7 separate regions of the Homo sapiens genome follow, and all the other regions are linked to region 6. The links are contacts of gene promoters, found by promoter capture Hi-C in human tissues and cell types (Jung and others, 2019). All regions are on one chromosome and are shown on one strand. The core of a region is centred on a gene start or on the middle of the fragment in contact, and the rest is flanking DNA. Distances in the headings are between cores, read along the strand shown. Region 1 overlaps LOC105376234 (a long non-coding RNA gene). Region 2 overlaps LOC105376234 (a long non-coding RNA gene). Region 3 overlaps LOC105376234 (a long non-coding RNA gene). Region 4 has its middle 75 kb from the start of LINC00474. Region 5 has its middle 210 kb from the start of LINC00474. Region 6 holds the start of PAPPA (pappalysin 1). Region 7 has its middle 190 kb from the start of LINC00474.

Region 1 (2,787 bases), core at 178-2,677, 340 kb before region 6:
GCATCAGTATACCTGGCTGCCCAGAGGTGCTGATTCATATGGGCAGTGAGGAGAATATACGCATGTAGTGGTGTGGCCAGGGGCCAAGGAGGCAGAAGCAGGGAAGAAGATGAAGCCAGTGTGGTTGGGAGATTGCTTACATTAAGCAAATAAGTCAGATGATTGAGCAAATGAGTAAATATTTTAAGAATAATGAGAGCCGGTTTTCTTACTACTAGTAAAATAATTTACAAATATAAAAAGGAAGACATCTAGAAGAACACGAAGGTATTTCATTTGCAATTAGAGATTTTTACAGTTTTTTATTGCTATATGATAAACCATCTCAAAATTTAGTCGTGCAAAACAACTTTTTCTGTTTGCATATCCTGTGGGTCAGGGATCCGGGGGAGCACAGGGGGCACAGACAGCCTGCTCCATGACATCTGGGGCCTCAGCTGGAAAGACTTCCATGATTCGGCAGACCCAACTGCAGGGGACTGGAATCATCCAGAGTCCTTAGGGCAGTTGAATTTTTTTGATGCTAGCTCCATATACTTGTGCATTCTAGTGAACAAAGTGAAAGCTGCATGCCTTTGCTAACTGAGTCTCAGTAAACATGTGGCATCATTTCTCCCATCTCTATTGGTTATACATGAGTCACAAGTTTGTCTAGGTTCAAGGAAAAATGACATCAAGTCACCCATCAATGAGAAGAGTGAAAACAAATTTGTGGGCAGCCAAAGGGATTGTCATGAATTTTATGTTTATTAGGTACATTTGTATATACATAAATATAAGAATTTTGTGTATGTATACATGGATATACACATGCACACACATATATATGTGTACACACAATTTTGTATATGTATATATGGATATACACATGCACACACACATATATATGTGCGTACACACACACACACATACACATAATTTTTCTACCTCTGTCCATTGGGAAGTCCTTAAGCCATGACAGAGAAGTGGCAATGAGCACGCTGAATAGTCAAACAAACTTAGCTTCTAAATACCTTCTTCTACTAAAAGGAATGACAGGCCCTTGGATTAATGGCTGAATCCAGGACTGAAATTGTATGAGAGGTGCACAGAATATCTTGTTTTGCTAGAAAATAAAGAAATGCTCAAAGAATACTGAAACATGTCAAAAGAATTTCAGAGCCAGTTCAAAAGGTTCCTAATCACCACAGATGGGAAGATTTGAGCATCAAATCAGAAAGTGGTAGTAACATATATTGACCCATTAAATTAATTAAAATCCATGAGTCCATAGTAAAATAAATAAATAAGCCATTAATCATATCAATGAATGGGGTAAAAGAGAAATTTCTTCCCTGTATTGAGATGACAACTAAAAAATATAGAAGGAAATATAGAATGGAAATAGAAAAAAACGCCACTTGGCAAGCATCATAGTTGTGGTTGATTTAGGCAGAAGTCATGATGGCTGTTAGGAAAGTGGGTGGAGTTCTGACAAAAGTAAGACACTAAGGTAATATCTGAGTATCCACCCACCCCTGCAAACTACTCATCAGTTATAAAGAAGAAATGATTACTGTATTGTGGAGAAATCTGATCAAGAACAATATGACCAGGTGATAAAGTCTGACATGACCACAAGAAGGATGAGTCAACAGCATGCATTTCCTGATGGAACTCGTTGAAAAAAGCACAGTGTCACTTCTGTGGTACCCCTCTCAGAACATATAGGACTCTGTAGAACTATAAAGACTATATACTATATGATCCAATTATATGACATTCTGGAAAATTCAAAACTATGGGGATAGTAAAAAAATGAGGGGTTGTCAGAGGCTGGGGGAAGAGAGGGATAAATAGGCAGAGCACAGAGAATTGTTAGGGCAATAAAGCTATTCTGTATGATACTATAATGGTGAATACATATTATTACTTATTAGTCCAAACCCATAGAATGTTCAATACCAAGAGTAAACCTAATGTAAACTATAAATTTTGAGAGATCATGATGTGTCAATGTAAGCTCATCAGTTACAATAACTACCACTGATGCCAGTTACTGATAGTGGGGAATACTGTGCATGATGAGGGGGCAGGAGGAATATGGAAACTCTGTACTCTCCACTCAATTTTGTCATGAACCTAAAACTGCTTTAAAAAATACAATTTATTTAAGACTTTTTTTTAAAAAAAAAAAGAAGGCAAGGACTGTGTCAGGCCAACTTTAGAAATACTCTGGTTGAGGTTTGGTCTACAAAATGAATGGATTATACTCTTAAAAACTATCAAGAACATGAAGGCCAAAGAATGGCTAAGGTGCTGTTTCAGGCTGAAGGAGATTGATAAAATCGAACAGCTAAAAGCAACACGCATTCCTGAATAATATGCTTGGCCAGAACCGCCAGTGGGACACTGTTAGGATGGCTGGTGAAATTTGAATGGGGCATGTGGATTGGATGCTTGTACTGTATCAAGGTTGATTTTCTGATTTGGAGGCTTATACAGTGGTGATGGAAGAGAATGCCCTTGCCTGGGGTAAATACACAGTGGGGAATTGAGGAGTCATGGAGGCATATCTGCTGTTGATCTCAATGGTTTGGAAAAAGATTAATGACAATTGGGAGGTGGCAGAGAAGAGCAGAGAAGAGAGTAAATGTGGGGAATCCATATGTTATGGGTTGAATTATTGTCCCTAAATTAATATGTTGATGAACCTAACTTCCAGTAACTCAGAATGTAACTCGGAGAGGTTCTTTAGAGTGGTAATCGAGTTAATGTGAGGCCATTGGAGGGGACCCTGATGGAATA
Region 2 (3,194 bases), core at 119-2,618, 400 kb before region 6:
GTTTACATCTTGTGGGGTCACTGGGATAGAGGAGACAACAGAGTGATTTATAGTCTAGAAGTTTGGTGAAGGATAGAATAATAATAGTTGATGCTTAACTAACAGGTATTTTCTAAATGCTAGATATTTTATAAGTACTTTATTTTTATTATATTTAATATTAAATTCTGACCATAGAGCTTGAAGTAAGTACCATTTTTATCCGTACATTTCGGAAAAAGGAAAATAGCACTTTAAAGAAATTAAACAAGTTGTCCAAAATCACATAGCCAAGAGGAGCAGAGCTCAGATTCAGTTGACCTTTGATCTCCCAATTCCTATTCCACTCTGCCATACCAGGAAAACTGAGTCTCAGTAACGGGGCCCATGTTTTCTCCACTATGCGGTGTTCCAAGATAGCGGCAATTAATACGACTTTTTACCTCCAGCATTTATACCTTCTAAAAAATTCTTGAATGTAGAAAAACACAGAGTGATAGCAAACTCCAAATGAAGATTCTCAAATTCAATCAGAATAGGGGCATCTTCATGGAAGAAAAAAAGTGGAGAATGAGACCCAAAGACTAAGCATGAGTTATAAAAGTGTCTATGGGAGAACCACAGTGAAAGAAGAGAAGGATGAAATATTCCAGGCACCAAGAAGGTGCTTATACCAAAAGCTATCGGTCTCCCCCTCTCAGTAACTCCAAGATCCCAAACAGCTATACTTGCTAAATGTGTGTAATGTACACTATTGTGTACCCAAAAACCACTATTTGGGTAGTGGTTACAATAAAAATCCAGACTTCACCACTGTGTAGTATATCCTTGTAGCAAAACTGCACTTGTGCCACTTAAATTTATATAAATAAATAGATAAATAAATATATTCTGAATACCATAACACTTATCTGTATCATAGCCTTCTCATCATATTCTAATCACATGTTTATTCGTCTGTGTTTACAGACAGTGAATTCCTTGAAAACATGGTCCTCGTATTTCTTATCTTTCTGTCCCTTGTACCAAGTGTAAAATAAATGTCCAATGCTTATTGAATGTTCAATGCTTGTTGAATCACTAAATAAATTAAGGACTCCTGACTTCACCCCTGACTAGCTATTTGTCTTGGATTTACTATTTAATCTTGTCCAATCAATGTTTCCTTGCCACTGCATAAGTAGCATGTAGCTCTGCTAGGCATTAGAGGAGTGATAAGGCAAAATGCATGGTTTCCAGAGTATCAGCATGTGTTGGGGATGGCAGACAAGTATGCAAGTAAGTGAGTTCCAGTGTGTCCATATGTAAAAATGAAGATGAGAAAACAACTTCTTGCTACCTCACAGGATGATAGGGGTGTGTAATAAAATAATGAGTGAAAAAATGTATTAGAAGTTACAAAGTATCATTTATATCCAAGTTAATAGCTATGATTTTGTGGAAGTTTTGCTCAGTATTACAACTTTTCTGGATTTGGGATCATTGAATAACATATAGAAACCTTGCTGTAGGTGCTTATAGAGGAGGCTTAGGCTGAAATTTGAGTAACTATTAATATATTTTTATGCTATTGCCTTTTGTACTTAAGACCTTATGTTTATGTGGCTTCAAGAATGGTTTACTTATTCTCTAGTTTTATAACTTTAATAATTCAGTACTTGGAAAGATTAGGGATTGAGGCTTCATTCTCTTACAGTATCATAGTATGCAACCTTTCATGTAAAAATAAGGTGGCATAAATCAATATGCATGTATATGTACATTTGTTCAAAAAGAAATACAGGAAGGTAAACCAGACACTAACAAGATGGATTGCCTGCAGAGAGTGGGTAGGAAAGAATAAGGGAATGGAAATTGGTTGGAAGGAATAAAGGATGAGTGGTACCTCCTTGAGTATATGTCTTTGTAAAGCTTTGACTTTTGAAAGAGTGATAGTATATCACATACCAAATAAATAAATACCAACCAATCAAATAGACAGACAAAATCAACGGAGAATTGGGAAGGAGGTAAACTTTAAGCAGAATACAAACATTAACAAATGAACTAACTCTACAAAAAATAGATGAAATCATTTTACTGAAGGGAGTGGGAAAGTTAAGGACTAACCTAAGTAATACTGGAAAACAGGATTTCGACTACAAATTGCAAAGCTAACAACAAAAATAACTGTACATGGAATTTTACTCTAGTTAATAAGTTTGTTTTCCATAACGTTAGTAATCCTGGAATGACTTTAAATGCATTCTAAGATAGCAAATAAATAAACTTGCTATCAAATCATGGATAATGAAAGCCAGTTTTCTCATTTTTGAAGAAAGGAATCATAATTAAAGGTTGAAGGCTAGAATGAACTGTGTAATGTTGGATTTGAATCAGAGGTATTACAATAAATTAATATATGTATGTGTGTATATATTTATATATGTATATATTATATGCATTATATACAATATATGTATATATTAATATATGTATGTGTGTATATATTTATATACACACATTCATATGCACACACACATAAATCACATTTGTGTATATATACGGTTAAATTGATGTAGATGTGTGTGTGTGCATACTTATTTTTTTTTCATTTTTGTCTGCTGAGAGGGCCTAGAAGTAATAATACTGTAGTACAGCAATTATAATGAGCACACCTAAAGTTTCAAAATAGTTTCTAAATACTATTTTTAAAATAAATAAAAAGGAAAAATGAATTCATTTAAGTACTGGATTATTTCAGTGCTAGTACAGGGAAATGCAAGATAAGCCTGGGACTACTTATGGTGCCAAGAAATAAGAGAATACTCCAAAAATGATGGGGCATGTAAAAAGAATGTAGCAGTTAACCTGAAGAAGCTTTCACTGGTAAATTTTATGACACCATAAGCAACAAAATAAGTACTAATAAAACAGCCTGTGTTGTTTTATATTGATATAAATAAATAAGTAAATGAGGGAGAGTGAAAGCTCTTTTCCTCAGCAGAATTCCAACTTATATATGAAGAAAGATAGATGGACTTCATCACTTAGCAAATACTACAGAAATAGGTGTTGCAGGCAAGATTTATCAATGAAAACTAAAATTAGTGGGTAAAGGTATGATGAGAAACAAGATTTTTGCATGCAAACATATTTATAGAAAGTACCTCCCTATAAGGTACTTATTAAATACATGGGAGAAGATAGTAACTTTACATTGGTAAACCAAGCAG
Region 3 (3,248 bases), core at 268-2,767, 360 kb before region 6:
CTTTCAGAGGTATTGATCCCTAATAAACATCTTGTATGCTGAACTTCATTTCAGCGTCTGAACCTAGAGAACAGAGCCTGCAACATCTGTCCATATCCAATAGACTCATATGTAAATTGCAAAGAATGTGAGCTTGGATATTTTTCTAGCCTTTAGCTACCTGGCTTAGCAGGGACTGGGCCAGAAAACCTCTAAGGATTCATCCAGTGCTAATGCTGCACATGCTTTCGCTTCCTCCATTTATATTCTCATCACTCCCTCTAGGAACCTCCTCTGTCTCTTGTTTTCTTCCCTGCATTTCCAGAGCTTCCTGTATTCCCAGCAGAAAACCCTTATCCCACTACATTGCCATGCAGCTTTAGCATGTCTGTCTTTCCTGTTTGACCCCTTCAGATCAAAGATGCTGTCTTTTACCTTAAAGTCACCTGCAGCACCTACTGCCTGGTTTGAAGTCTTGAAGGTATTCAGTAAATGAGCATTTAGTAAGCACACTCATACAGACACTCTTCAGGGTTACTCTGACTGAGGAATACATAACGAATGGTACTCCATAACCCTCTTTCCAATTGTCCTCTTCTTTAAGTAAACAGTTTCCCATTTCATGAAGATCAATTTGTTTTCCAGTGAATTGCTGCAGGACATAAACATGTCTAAGGACTGGCCAAGTAAATGAAGACATGGCTTTGTATTTTAGTCTACTGTCAAAGTCAGGTGGTACAATACCACAGCACATCATTCTTTTCCAACCAAGCATGTCTTTTTAAAAATGAAATTACAATTGCTTTGTATTAATTTATTTTATTTTCCTTGTAAGAAGAAAGGATGAGAGATGCCAAAAGACAAAGGCCAATGAGATAGCTGTCATGGGACAGGCAAAAGGAGGTAGAAAAGTAGGGAAAGGTAAAGAAAATTATATTTATTAAATGCTTAGTACATGTCAGGCACCATTCCAAGCTTTTTGTATACATTCCATTTAATAATTACATTTTATAGATAAGAAAGTTGAGGTTGAGATTAGCTAATGTTTTTCCCTGAGTCCTATAAGAATGGTCACACAATTGGAAATAGAAACTCGGGTATTATATGTCTAACAAATGGATCTGTCTCAACAAATAAATGGAGTTGGAGAACTTGGAGGTATCCGGCATATCAAGTCATCAAGGGTGGCCAGAGCAGATTGTTCAAAGGGTAAGATAAGAAGAGTGAGACTGAGAGAGAGAGAGAGAGAGCGCGCGCATTACCTGTAATAGTGTAATCAATGCTTATTGAGTAGAAAGTAATGGGCTAAACAGGAGAACATGTATAATTGCAAAGCATATTTCCTGTCCACAAAGAGTTTCTAGTGTATGTTTAGGGAGGCAAGACATGAGTGCATAAAAGGAGAATTAGCTATGCAGGTAAATGGGATAGGAATGTTACATCCTCCATAATAAATTCAGAGCCAAGAGCCTGTCTTAAGTAGGATAGTCAAAAAGGACTGAAAGGAAGATCTCTCTCCACTTCTAATTAATTTGGTGATTAATGTGAGGAATGTTTTGTGTCCTCATCTTTTCTTTGATCTCTTCTTTCAGGGTCTTTTCCTCTAACCAATTCTCCACTCCATAGCTTAGCAGCTAAATGGTTCCTTAGCTGCTTGAAGTAAAGGATGTTGCTTACATGGCTAGGCAATTGTTATATGTCTATCTAATAATCAAATTACCACTAATTTACCATAAGAGAAAAGGAAAATATATCCAGAATGTCCCATTTCAAGGAGTTGTACACATTGCCCTAAAAATTGTTTACAAATTTCAATTTACTTTCATATATTAATTTATTTGTAGATATAGAATTTGCCTATAACCACATCCAGCTGTACACCATGAGTATTTTAAGAGAGTGAATATATTAGACGGTATGGAAGAATCTTAGAAATAATGCTTACTGAAAACACTACTCATTTCAAACAAAGGCTCTTAGCAGGAGAAAGCCTCTTCATTAAAAAACCAGAATTCAAAAAATGCAAGGCTATTTTAAAGTTGGAGGCTGTTCTCAGGAAAAGCCAGAGAAAAGCCCATCCTATCTGTGAAGATTTTGCATATGGGTGTGTAATATAGACATACAGGTTCGATTTTCTTTGCAGAGAAGGAATGTAGCATTGTGACGTTTCTGAAATTCTAAACCCGAACAGGGGTCGGTGGGGAGACATTAGAGTCTGAGCACATATGCCAAAATATGCTTTATGAATGCTAATGCTGAAAGGTTTGCTTTTAAGGACGTACACAGGTTTCCCTCCTGGCCACCCTGTATCCGGTCTTTCTTAAAAGGGGCTCCCTTGGAAAATAAAGTCAGTGATTTTTTTTTTTCCAATGGACCCAAAAAGCAGGAACAGATGTGACACGAATAACCTCTACTTTGTGCATACCTCAGAGGAAAATGACACGGCCTAAAGCAGGGGATCTGGCTCCAGGCCAGAGAGAAGGACAATTGGAGTTTAGGCCCCTAATGACATGGTTCACCTCAGCTCACTCTTTTGTGCTTGTGTAAAAAGTGCAGGTGGAGAAAGTGAGTTGTGTTTACTCATTGCAGGTACAAATGAAGTTTCTGTAGAAGGCTGCCATTTTCCTTAGCTCTCTGTTATCTCTTTTTCCCACATCAGAATAGCCACACTGCTTTATTTGACCATCTTTCAAGGCATGGAAGAAGTGATCAAGCATAATGCTTGAGGCCTGAGTTCTAGAGTCTGACACCCTGAGTTGGAATTTTGGATTGGTTCTGCCACGTAACAAGATAATTTTTAAAAAAATTATTTGCCATCTCTGTGCCTCAGTTTCTTTCTCTGTTATATATACAGGATAATAATATGATCTACCTCACTGAAGTTTTTTTTCTGAGATTCTATAGACAAAACATGAGGAGCACTTAGAACAATGCCCAAAACATAGCAAGTGTTTAATAAATGTTGTTATAATTATTAAGAATCACTTTTTATTTTTAAAATTAAACAATTTAATTTTAGATTCTGAAACTAAACAGAACATGCATATGATTGTTACACAGGTGATATTGCATGTTGATGTGAACTGGGCACCTAACGTACCCATTACCCAAATAGTGAACATGGTACACAATAAGTAATTTTTCCATCTTCACCTCCTTTCCATCCTCTACTTTCTAGTATTTTTTATATTTATTTGGATCAATTTTTTTTCCTCAGCAGAAAGCAAGTCCTTGGAGTGCAGAAAGCATGTCAGATTCACCTTAATATT
Region 4 (2,836 bases), core at 182-2,681, 300 kb before region 6:
ACAATGAAAAGGAGTATGCAAAAACATTGATGAATCTCAAAATGTTGAAGAAATACACCAGGCACCAGAAAAAGATTCACACTATATGATGCTATTTATGAACAATTCAAAAATAAATAAAGCTAATTTATAGTGAGATAAGTGGTTTGGGATTCTATAGCTCTGGATTGGAATCTTGAATTTGCAAATAAGTGGTTGTAGGGTTTGGATAAGTTGAATTACCTCTCAAAGTCTGTTTCCCCACGCAGCTCGTAAAGCAATTAATATAGTGCCTTTCATATGCAAGGTATGTGGAAAATAATGATTCTCATTATTAGTGTTCCAAACTCTTAGGTCTGCTGTTCCTCTGAAGTATGTTATTCTAGATTTGGAAAGGAATTTCTGTTTGTGGCTTTAGGTCTCTACCATGCCCCCTATCACATACATCTTTGTTCTTCTTTGTTTCTTCAATCCCTCTTTCTATCCTTATGTCTTCCATTTTTGCTTTTTTAATGCCTTCTTCTCTATCTTTCCATCCTGTCTTGCTTTTGATTTTTCTGTGGCTCTCCAAGGACTTCACATCAATACTTGATCCTAAAACTCTTTCAATACTAAAAGCAGTTGCTGACATTTTCTCCTACTTCACTCTTTTCATCTCTCTCTCTCCTGTTTTCCATGTGTATGGTCACAGACACTGCCAGCCACATTAGTGTGTAATCATTAAAATTCCATGTGAATTCATTCCTGGGTTCAAGGCACAGCTGTGCCGTGGCACAAATGTTTCATGTCATGTAATAAAAAGTAATGGCATCAAGAAATCCAGAGGCTCCTCTGACATGTTCTACTTCCATGGAGTACAACTGTAAATCCTTCACTTCTCATTTAGTCAACAGCCTCACTCTCCCCCTACCCATGACAGTCTAAGTCCCGTAAATGTTTTCTTTCTACTGCTCATAGACACTTGTCCTCTATTTTTCCTCTTGCTATACTTTACTACATTTTCCATTCAGCAATGCATTTTTAAAGTATAAATTATGTCCTATAACTCCTTTGTTTAAATCTATCTAACAATATCCCAGTGTACCTAAAGTACATTCAAAGTAAGAACCGTAACCTCCCAAGCCTTTCATGATCCCTCCTCTCAGCACCTACCTATTATCGTTCTCTCTGTTTATTACAATGGTCCTACTTTTGTTTCTCACATATACTACACTTATATTCAACTCAGGATTTTTGCACATACAAAGGCTCTAGTAGGATATTCTTTTCCCAGAATATTTGATGGATAGCTCCTTTTCATCATTCAAGTTTATATATTACATATAGGGAGAGGGTTTTCCCAAGGCCAGTCTAGCTAAAGTAACCTTTACCCCACCCTAAGTTACTGTGGCATCACTCTATTTAATTTTCTTTATAACAACTCTCATTAACCTCATTTATCTGTCTTACTATTTTGTTGTTGTTTACATGCTTGTTGGTGTGGATGTTGTGGGGGCTTAATATAGTTATAGGTGAGGTTGGTTATATTTGTATTACAGGATGTGGTAGAGTAGCTATTCAATAATGTTGTTTCCTGTGGTTTGGGTTTCGTTATGCCTCCTCATGGTCAAATCCAATAACTCCATGATCCTGGCAGAAGAACTGGTGTGTTTAATGAAAGAAATGTGGGCTCAGATGTCTTTCTCTCTTCATCTCTGATTCCAACATAATCACACTCGCTGGCTTCCAGCCACTGGGGCAAGCCATTTTCCAGGCTTGACTTGAGAGTGAGAACTATACAAATTTCTCGACTTTTCTTACAGGCTTTTGCATGATCTTAGCTAACAGTTTTCTGAAAAGGAAGAATATTTTTGGCATGTTTGTAGACTATTAGCCAAAGCATCAACAGCTGAGTTCCAGCTGACTAATTTCTCCCCTGCTTGGTGCATCTAAGACAGAGTAAAAATACTTTTTGTATTTGTTTTGTTTTGTTTGTTTGTGTTCCAATCCCAAAGAACCCAAATACTCCCCAAAACAGCATGGAGAGATGACAATTGCTGCTAGTGTATTGTAGAAAATGTATAGAAGAAACACTGAATACTTAATAAATGTGTGTACCCCCCAAAAATTTGAACTTCCTTTATAAAAAGTTTCAATCCTATGTTTATTGATTATTTATTTTGTAAACAAACTCTTAGGCAGAGACTACACATAATAATCCCTTCAAACCCTCTTCCCTTCTTTAAAAGCAGGAATAGGTTTAGAAAACACACACACACACACACACACACACACACACACAAACACACACACAGAGACAAACACATACACGCACACAACAGATGGGCACTGGGATGTAGCTAAAACATTTTAGAATTTGATCTGAACTCAAGTCTTGGTTCAACACATAGTAGCTGTTTGATATTGACCACACATTTAACCTTCTTGAGCTACAGCTTCCTGTCTAGTACAAGACATGTAATAACTGCTTTACTTTTTTTCTTGTTGTTGAATGCAAAATGAATTTGTTAAATCCTTAGGAATTCAATAAATGTCAGTTTTCTTCATCAACCAAATCACCTTAACAATGATCTTTGCTAAGAGAGCAGTCAAGTGAAAGAGTTAGGTCTTTCTGATGCCCCTTAAGGAACACAATTGCTCTACTAAAATGATTGCAGCTCTTCTTCTGTTACTCTGGAGAGTATTAACCTCAGCTGAGTGCAGCTTGTGGGGTAAATACACACCCACCAAGGAGTAGGATGAGTTTATAAACAATTATGCAAATATGGCTTCATGCTTTTCTCCAGACATAACCACAAGATGAGTACAGATTAATCACTGTGGACACTGTTGGCAAACAGAGCATTTCATTCTGTTC
Region 5 (2,837 bases), core at 231-2,730, 440 kb before region 6:
CCTCAGGTGATCTGCCCACCTCGGCCTCCCAAAGTGCTGGGATTACAGGTGTGAGCCACCACTTCTACCCAACATTTCTTGACTTTGGTGGTGGTTACATGATTGTAGACATTTGCCAAAACTCAAAAAACTGTATACTTACAGTTGGTGAATTTTTTGGCATAAAAATCCATCAGTCGAGCTAGTTTTTAAAAGATATCAGAATAATCACACTAAAAAATAACAATAAAAAACTTTATGGGGTCTCTACATATCCAGTTATAATTGACTTGAGATACTCTCACACCTGTATTATCTCTTCAAATTCTAACTCTCTCCACTTCGGACTCAGAATCAACATGCTGTGGAACAATACCCTTAAAGATTTTTAGCTCTGTGGACTACCTGAGAAAGATTTAAATGTAACAACTTAAAAATGTCTGATGTCTTAATAATGGGTGATAAAACCACACCTTAGATTTGACCTTGATCCCATCCTCACGTTTCACTGGAAGTATCCAGGTTATTACATTTGCCCCGAGGTCATATCTTACTTTCTAGTCATATGCCAGCGGGAGTAGATGAGAATTAGATACAGTTCTATTTTCGAGTCCTGTAAATCCTAGGTTGGAAGTATTTTCTCTAAATTCTGATTGGGAAATGAACATCTCTTTCTTAACTGAGTCTCCATTCTCATAATAGGCAGACAAAAGACCCAATTAATACTGTCAATATTCTTCCTGAAAATCTCGGCAAGATTCACAAGCTCATTGGGTCGATTTTTTCTTAAAATTTCAATTTTACTCTAAGTAATAATGTTTCTACTCATAACACCCATCACCCTTCCTGCAGCCCCCAAAGCAATTTCCACACTTCTGCACCATCCTCCACTAAGAGTTTCATCACCCTCTGGCCTCCGCTTGCAGCCTGGTCCCAAAGCCAATGCCACGTATTTTATATTTTTGTCACGTTCACACTAATTTCTTTTCTTTTTTTTTTTTCCCCAGTTATTTAGCCCTATCTAGCATTTCTCTTAACACTTAAGGACTTAAAAACAACTTTTTAAAAAAACACTTTTCTTATAATTTTGGGATCATCTTGTGGTTCTTCTGCTGCATATGGTGTTGACTGGAGTCAATAAATAAGGGTGCTTCCTTCAGTCAGGAGCTTGGCTGAGGCTATAACATTCCGGGGAAACACTTAAGTATCTGGGGCCCCAGCGCTGGCTGTCTGCTACAGAACCTCAGTTCTCATCTTCTGATCTCTCTTTCCTTCTCTCTCTTCTCTCTCCTCTCTCTCTCTCTCTCTCTCTCCTCATACCTACTTTTCTCTTATCATTCAGCAGTCCAGTAGTCGGCTCAGGCTCATTTACATAGCAAATGAGCAAAAGAGCAAGAAAGGCAGCAATTAAACGTCTTAAGGGACAAGCCCAGACTCTTTCAGCATCACGTCTGCTACATTTTATTGGCCAAAGAAGCTTACAAGTTTTAGCTTGTAAATTCAGGGATAGGGGAATTAGACTCCACTTTCTGATGCAAAGTGTTTTAAAGTTTCTGCGGGGCTAAGTCTCAGAACCCCAGCACTGGAAAGTGTTCGTCTTGCAGGTTAGTAAGAATTATATGACGACAACAGTATAGGTTTGAAAAAGGAAAGTTTTATTAGAAAGAACACTGCAGAAGAGTGCAGCGGGATGCCTCAGCAAGAGAGGACTCAGTGTGTGGTGGTGGATTTTTCCTGAGGGGTATATATGGACCTTAAAGTGGGAGCTTGGGATAATTTAGACCATATTAGCCACATAGGTCATGATAAATGATTACATTTGTAGACATTTTGGTGCCTTGATGTCAGCAAGGGTTGCACAGTTAGTTTCAACATGCGTGCATTCCAGAGATGTATAGAAATTCCAGTTAATTACACATTTTTGGGAAAGAAATCTGGAACCAGATGCCTGCTTTAGATAATAGGGAAGTCTAATTATTTCTAAATTCCTCAGATAAGGAATTTGCCTCTGGATGGTCTGCTTGATGGTCACCAGGTGATCTTTGCTCTCCTCAGTTTCAGAGGATAGAGGAGTTCCTGGTGCCCATCTTTGGCGACAATCAATTATGCTATGTTATTCTTGAATTTTTCAGATATCATAGGCCAAAACTATTCATTCCCAAACCATTATTTTATTTTGGTACTTTTAGTTAGGCTTCCATAACTAGAGACTAGAAGGGTTCTGATTAACACAAATATAGGAAGTGAATGTATGTGACAATTAGCTAAGAGTGGAAAGTAAGGTAAGAAAAAAAATTCTGAATAAGGGCCAACGCCAAATGAGAGATAATTATCTGGAACTACAAGTCTCCAAGCATGGTGTACTCTCTACAGGACCACAGTTTAAATCCCAAAGAAGTGTCTGAAAGTACTCCATCTGGTTTTCCCAAAGCATTTTTTTAGGTCCTTGTTTCTACAGAATGCTTTTAAGTGATTCCATGAAAAAATGAATTTCATTACTTAAGGGCCAATCTGAACTTTTGATAGCTAATATGCACTATGAATCATAAAGCGTGATGTGTGTTACAACATCAACTGAATTCATTTTAACACAGATTCCTTACTTCAGCATCTTGAGAAATGATGTTCCACTGGATATACTCTGGGGAGTTCTGGTATGGTTTGAGCTACTTATTTTAGAAATTAGGAATCTGAAGCACAGAGTTTGAGTCACTTGCTTGTGGGAAGTAGGAGCAGAACTTGGGGCCTCTCACTAGGTTTCCAGTCTGAATCTTTTTTCTCCTAGTGGCTGAGGTAGGTATGAACACATATACCACAGGAGCATGATTTTTACTGCTACGGTTTCTTTTTTTTTTTTT
Region 6 (2,827 bases), core at 99-2,598:
TGCAAACTTCACACAGAATATTTTTATCACTACCTTATTGGAATAGATTGGTAATTAATAGCTTGTAATCCACCATTGCTAACATGTTTTGACTTATTAAACACTTGGACAAAATAAAAGAAGATCTGTTTTGCCATAAGGGGGAGCTTTTGAGTTCTATAAAGAGGGGGAAAAAAGAAGAAAAAAATATATTACATGTATGTCCCAGTTCAAAAACAGACCTACAAAGCAGCAAATGGTCAGATCCTTACCTGTGACTTTAACAATTTCAGAGGACCTGAATTGCTTAAGTTGAAAACATTAGGCAAATTAATATTTTTCTCTCATTTTCTTCTTATAAAATTAAAATAATTTCTAATGACCAACAGAGTATTTTAAAGAGTATTCGGGGAAATTCAGAGACCCAGTTGTACTAGGACTACAGCTTCTGAAAGGCAGATGTCCTGGACAGTGCCTTTCTTCTATTTTCTTCTGATGATTCCATAAGAACTTTGGAAACATTTGGGTTAGCTGAAGCCAGCCTTATCTGGGGGCTCAGAAAAGAGGGGAATGGTTCATCATCGTACAACTTTAAGGAAATTCTGAGAGGGAAAAGGACAGGGAAAAGAAGAGGGAAAGAGGTAAAGGGAGAGGAAGCGGGAAGAAGAGTAAGGGAGAGAGTGAGAAAAAGAGAAAGAGAGGGAGAGGGAGGGAGGGAGAGACAGAGAGAGAGAATTAAAAAAAAAAATCTAAGAATCAAGTTTCAAGACTCTTTATGTGCTACAGAAAAGGATGAGGTTTACCAGCAAAGTGCAAAGGGGATCCTAAGAGAAGAGACAGATTTTTCTCCTGCCATCAGAAATAATAATAATAAGTGGGGGGAGTGAGGGAGGGAAAAAAAGCAAGCAAAACAAAACAAAAACAGGAATGTGTGTTTTGAGCAGGAATGAGAGCTGGGAGGACCGTAAGGGGGTGTGTACAGAATTTCATTAAATTGTTACTTTAAGATTGTCTCCTTAAAAAAAAAAAAAAAAAAAGAGAGAGAGAGAGAGAGAGAAAAGGAGGGGGTGGTGGAGAAGCGGGAGCGAAGGAAAGGAGGCAAAAGGCAAAGTGAAGGAAAGCTGGATAGCTCGGCCTCTCCAAACTGATTGATTAGTCATGATCCCCGCAGTTTTAACAGGGACTCATTCAATTGGGAAGGTGGAGCGCTGGGGAGCAGATTAGCATACGCTTGTTTACTCATCTTCTGAGGGATTTTTTCCCCCTCTTTCCTTTCATTTTGAGAAGAAGGAGGGAGGGGAGGGGGGACTTGGGGGGGGAGAAGGGGGCTGTGGCTTGTGTTATAAAGGACGCAAAAAATAAATAAATTAGAGCATCTTTTGGGGGGAGGGAATTCAGCGGATCAGTCTTAAGAGGAGCTTTTTTTTGGAGCGAGAAATCATATAAAATAAAATGAAATAAAACAAGGAGGAAGGCAACCAGCTGTTAGGGGAAAAATAAGGCAGATAAAGGAGCGGGGAGAGAAATTAATTGCCAACCAGGAGGAGTTGGGCTGTATTTTTCAAAGGTGGGGAGAGTGGAGCACACACCTTGAGGAGGAAAGCGAGAAAGAAAAGAAAAAAGCAAGTGGAAAGGGGGGCTCGCCCAAGAAGGGTGAAGAAGCGAAGAAAGTCGAGGCGCCGAGGCTCCCAAAGCTGGCAGCTCCGGGTGGCGGTGCAGGGGCGAAGGGGGGGCGGGGGGAACCGTCGGACATGCGGCTCTGGAGTTGGGTGCTGCACCTGGGGCTGCTGAGCGCCGCGCTGGGCTGCGGGCTGGCCGAGCGTCCCCGCCGGGCCCGGAGAGACCCGCGGGCCGGCCGACCCCCGCGCCCCGCCGCCGGCCCGGCCACCTGCGCCACCCGGGCGGCCCGCGGCCGCCGCGCCTCGCCGCCGCCGCCGCCGCCGCCGGGCGGTGCCTGGGAAGCCGTGCGCGTCCCCCGGCGGCGGCAGCAGCGGGAGGCGAGGGGCGCCACCGAGGAGCCGAGCCCGCCGAGCCGGGCGCTCTATTTCAGCGGGCGAGGCGAGCAGCTGCGCCTCCGGGCCGACCTCGAGCTGCCCCGGGACGCGTTCACGCTGCAAGTGTGGCTGCGAGCGGAGGGGGGCCAGAGGTCTCCGGCAGTGATCACAGGTAGGTGAGGGCGCCTCGGCGGGCGCTGCACCGTCCCTGCGGCCCCAGAGGCTCGCGGGTGTCTGGGCGCGGGTGGCGGGCGGGTCGGGGGCTTGCGGGCGTGTCTGTGCGAGAGCTGCCCCGCGAGCGGCGCAGAGACATCCGGGCGAGCTGAGAGCCTCACTTTGCTCCATCGGTGGAATGGGCACACTCGGAAGGCGTAGCTGCTCCATCCCTGGGAGGAACCTGGGGAGCCCTCCTGGCGGCCCCGCGGACCCTCGGCCAGTGAGGGCTGGTTCCCGGAGCCTAGGGCACGTAACCCGTGCTCCGAATGGTCAGATGCACTCTCTCCTTTTGGGATGAAAGGGAGGATGACCCAATTGAGATGCATGTGAAAGGAGACTTGGGGACCGTTGATTTCTTTGACGTTTTAATGGAGGTAACTCCCCTTCATTAGGCCCCATTCCCCTGAAAGCCGGCAAGGGCAAGGTTGTTGTAATGGCCAGGACTTAGAAGTCCTCGAAGTGCCCCAAAGTTGCTCACTGATTGAAGCCTGCCTCTGGGACTCACCCTCACCCCCTCCACGCCATCCCATGTCCTAGCTTTTAAAGCCCATTGCCTGTCACTCGGGGCTGGGACGAGACCTTCCTAACGCATACCCCGCCAGCGTTCCCCAGACGCGGCTGCGAAACGGGGCGCTTTT
Region 7 (2,895 bases), core at 48-2,547, 420 kb before region 6:
GGGGAGGGAACTTAGAGGATGGGTCAATAGGTGCAGCAAACCATCATGGCACACGTATACCCATGTAACAAACCTGCACGTTCTGCACATGTATGGTGTTTTGTTGTCTTTCTTTTTTTAGAAGAAATAAAGAAAAACAACAACAACAACAAAGAAACATAATGAATTCAAATCTTACCTCTGCTGTTTTCAAGCTGTGGGACCTGAAGCAATTGCTTCAGCCCTCTGTGTCTTGGTTTCAAGATTTATTTAAAAATCATAGAATGGTAATTAGGACACAGGGGTTGTGGTTCAGAGATTGTATGATGACATGTTAAGAGCACAGGCCCTGAAGACAGGCAATGAAGGAGTTCACATATTGGCTAGTCTAATTCATATCTGTGAATTTGAGCAGGTTACTTAATCTCTTTGGAATAAACAAGGATAAAAATTATATTTACCTTGTGGGTCACCGTGAAGACTAAATGAAATAATATATCTCACATCCTTGACTAAGCACTGGGCTCCTGGGAAGAGCTCAATGAAGGCTAGTTATATGAAGCACTGGGTAAATGCTTAATAAATAAATGGCAAATAATGTAAGTGGGGGAAAAAAGGAATTTGGGCAAATTGTAGTCACACAATGTAATGTGACTGAAACAGCACACGTCTCCTCCCAAGAATGCTCTCTGAACCCAGTGAATTTCCACTGCTGGGGGAGAAGAAGGGATGGCAGGCTAGATTAGGATAATTGTTTTTCTTGGAAACTAAAGAATCAAAGTTTGCCTCGGGCACCTCTATTACCGCAACTTCAGTCCAATCCCCAAATCCCACTGATACAATGAATGAAACTTAAAAGCTGCAAAGAAGAGAAGGAAGAATTGAGGAGAGAAGCCAAAAGCCTTTAGGCTTCAGTTTGATCCTCCCCTGCCATCTCCCCGCCCTGTCTTTACCCCAAGCTTCTGCAAGCTTCCTCTTTCTTTGGGGGAAAATAGTCTTTCTCCCTTCAGTTTGCTGTAGCAACATTTTCTTTTTTCTTTTCTTTTCATTTTTCTTTTAAGTGCAGGGGAAACATAAGCATGCTAAGTACTAAGAGGGAGACTCCAGAGGAACAAGAGGGCAGGGCCCTTGGTCTTGGATTACAAATGAAAAGGATGCAGGTCTCTCTCAAGTCCCTTACCACATCAGTGCAACTGCCTGTTTCCCTGTATGTGGTTTCACCAGGCAGAGAGGAATCATAGGCTCAATATTAAGATCATAAAGCAGTCAGCTTTGGAAGTAAGCCAAGTCCTACCAATAACTTTAGATTTAATCTGTTAGAACCTCAGTTTCAACATCAGTAAAATAGGATAAGATGCATAAAATACATGCCCAAGAAATCATTCCTTCTCCACGTCCTTCCCCTTTTCATCTTCACTTTCTTTTACCTCTCCTTTACATTTCCTGCATCTTTCTTCTTGTTATTTTTCTTGTCATTTTAAATTATCATTCTTTTATTCCTCTTTCATTCTCTATCTCTGTTGCTCAAAGTCAGGAGCCATGTTTCTTTACTGCTCTCTGCTTCCCCTAAGACCTTGTATGTAGGGGCTCAATGTATATTTATATGATAAGGAAAAAAGAACTCTTAACAATCCTTTATTTGTATATTAAAAAGCACCATCATATCTTGTATTCTTACTAATGGGTACTAACTAGTATAATGCAAATACTTCTCAGTAAATAATTAAAGAAGCATTAAAAATCCTAGAACGTTAGTACCAGAAAACCCACTGAGTGCCTTTAGCTCTGAATTTACAGAAAACACAATGAAGGCTAAGAGAGGAATAGGGATTGATCCACAGTTGTCTTGGAGGCAGGGACAGAGTGACCTATCTTGCTCCTCATCCATATCTCTATTTCTACAGCACTGCACCACCCTCTATGCAGGCAGGTCACTTGACTAATCCATTCATTCAATGAAAAATGTGTAATAGCATTTACAATGCGTCAGGTATGTATGGTGCTAGACATCACACATGACTAGTTTGTTGGTTTTAAATTTTGATGTTGTTTGGTTTCCTTTACTTTTTCTGTTATTTGCTTGCTTGGCTGTTATTGTTGAATAAGAAAAGAGAGTAAATAGGTTTTATAAAATGTAGCTAACTGTAACATATGCTTTTTTGTCACTTTTTTCTTATTTTGTTTTATTTGTAAAAATACACCAGATTTATATCCTCACAGAACAAACTTACAGCCTAACAGGGGAGACTGAATTAAAACACACACACACACCACTCTACTTGGTATGTTGATGGGTGGCCCCATCAACATACATAAATAGATATTCAGTTTTAAATTATAATATGTAATTTGAAGGAAAACTGTAGTATGCTATGAGGGAGGGGAAAAAAGTGAACACTATTGAACTGGGGTATTGAGGAATGCATCTTTAAGGAAATTCCTTTCAAGAGGAAGCCTAAGGATTAAAGAATATACTTATGAGTAAATTCTGCTAGTTCTCCATCCCATTTCTTATGTGGTTGGCCCACCTACAATAGCCTCCCTTACCTCCTTACTTCATCAAAGACGTACACATTCTTCAAGGCACAGGACAAGTGCCATTGATTCTGCAAGTCCTTATCTACCCTAGCCCTGCCCTTTCTAAAAAAAAAAAAAAAAAGATTAAAGTTTCCCTATAAGAATAAATTTTAGTCATTTCCATTCGTAGTCAGCAAACACTTTCTTAAAGACAGTTGACTCCATTTATGATGACAAATCCACCAGTCTTCTCTATATTTAGGTGAGATCGTTCTATGTTTACCTGGCTAACATTTTCTGAGATGTATTGGATTGGTATGAGTTAAGGCCTGGTCTGAAAAGTTCCATAAACTACCTACTACCTCGTTGCATCAGATGTATATGCCACTAGTTATTATA

Evidence for each region. The method cuts DNA at HindIII sites, captures the fragments that hold promoters and counts their contacts. A contact is called where the count stands out against the background at its distance.
Region 1: a fragment that was not itself captured here is called in contact with the fragment with the promoter of PAPPA in region 6 in 1 of the 25 tissues and cell types used here (mesenchymal stem cells).
Region 2: a fragment that was not itself captured here is called in contact with the fragment with the promoter of PAPPA in region 6 in 2 of the 25 tissues and cell types used here (aorta and mesenchymal stem cells).
Region 3: a fragment that was not itself captured here is called in contact with the fragment with the promoter of PAPPA in region 6 in 1 of the 25 tissues and cell types used here (mesenchymal stem cells).
Region 4: a fragment that was not itself captured here is called in contact with the fragment with the promoter of PAPPA in region 6 in 1 of the 25 tissues and cell types used here (lymphoblastoid cells).
Region 5: a contact is called between a fragment that was not itself captured here and the fragment with the promoter of PAPPA in region 6, in 1 of the 25 tissues and cell types used here (mesenchymal stem cells).
Region 7: a fragment that was not itself captured here is called in contact with the fragment with the promoter of PAPPA in region 6 in 1 of the 25 tissues and cell types used here (mesenchymal stem cells).

The regions. Positions count from the first base shown.
Region 1 is chr9:115,808,812-115,811,598 of GRCh38, forward strand. The region is part of intron 2 of LOC105376234 (a long non-coding RNA gene); the gene reads left to right. Among named protein-coding and RNA genes, the nearest start is that of LINC00474, 120 kb to the right of the region's middle. The HindIII fragment of the contact is 6,988 bases long and covers 1-2,787 here.
Region 2 is chr9:115,748,197-115,751,390 of GRCh38, forward strand. The region is part of intron 2 of LOC105376234 (a long non-coding RNA gene); the gene reads left to right. Among named protein-coding and RNA genes, the nearest start is that of LINC00474, 180 kb to the right of the region's middle. The HindIII fragment of the contact is 3,851 bases long and covers 1-3,194 here.
Region 3 is chr9:115,788,584-115,791,831 of GRCh38, forward strand. The region is part of intron 2 of LOC105376234 (a long non-coding RNA gene); the gene reads left to right. Among named protein-coding and RNA genes, the nearest start is that of LINC00474, 130 kb to the right of the region's middle. The HindIII fragment of the contact is 5,609 bases long and covers 1-3,248 here.
Region 4 is chr9:115,848,354-115,851,189 of GRCh38, forward strand. No RefSeq gene overlaps it. Among named protein-coding and RNA genes, the nearest start is that of LINC00474, 75 kb to the right of the region's middle. The HindIII fragment of the contact is 8,692 bases long and covers 1-2,836 here.
Region 5 is chr9:115,711,332-115,714,168 of GRCh38, forward strand. No RefSeq gene overlaps it. Among named protein-coding and RNA genes, the nearest start is that of LINC00474, 210 kb to the right of the region's middle. The HindIII fragment of the contact is 3,141 bases long and covers 1-2,837 here.
Region 6 is chr9:116,152,443-116,155,269 of GRCh38, forward strand. It overlaps PAPPA (pappalysin 1), which reads left to right and starts at 1,349. Exons shown (of 22, transcript NM_002581.5): 1 at 1,349-2,145. The coding sequence starts at 1,731. The HindIII fragment of the contact is 11,414 bases long and covers 1-2,827 here.
Region 7 is chr9:115,729,849-115,732,743 of GRCh38, forward strand. No RefSeq gene overlaps it. Among named protein-coding and RNA genes, the nearest start is that of LINC00474, 190 kb to the right of the region's middle. The HindIII fragment of the contact is 4,632 bases long and covers 1-2,895 here.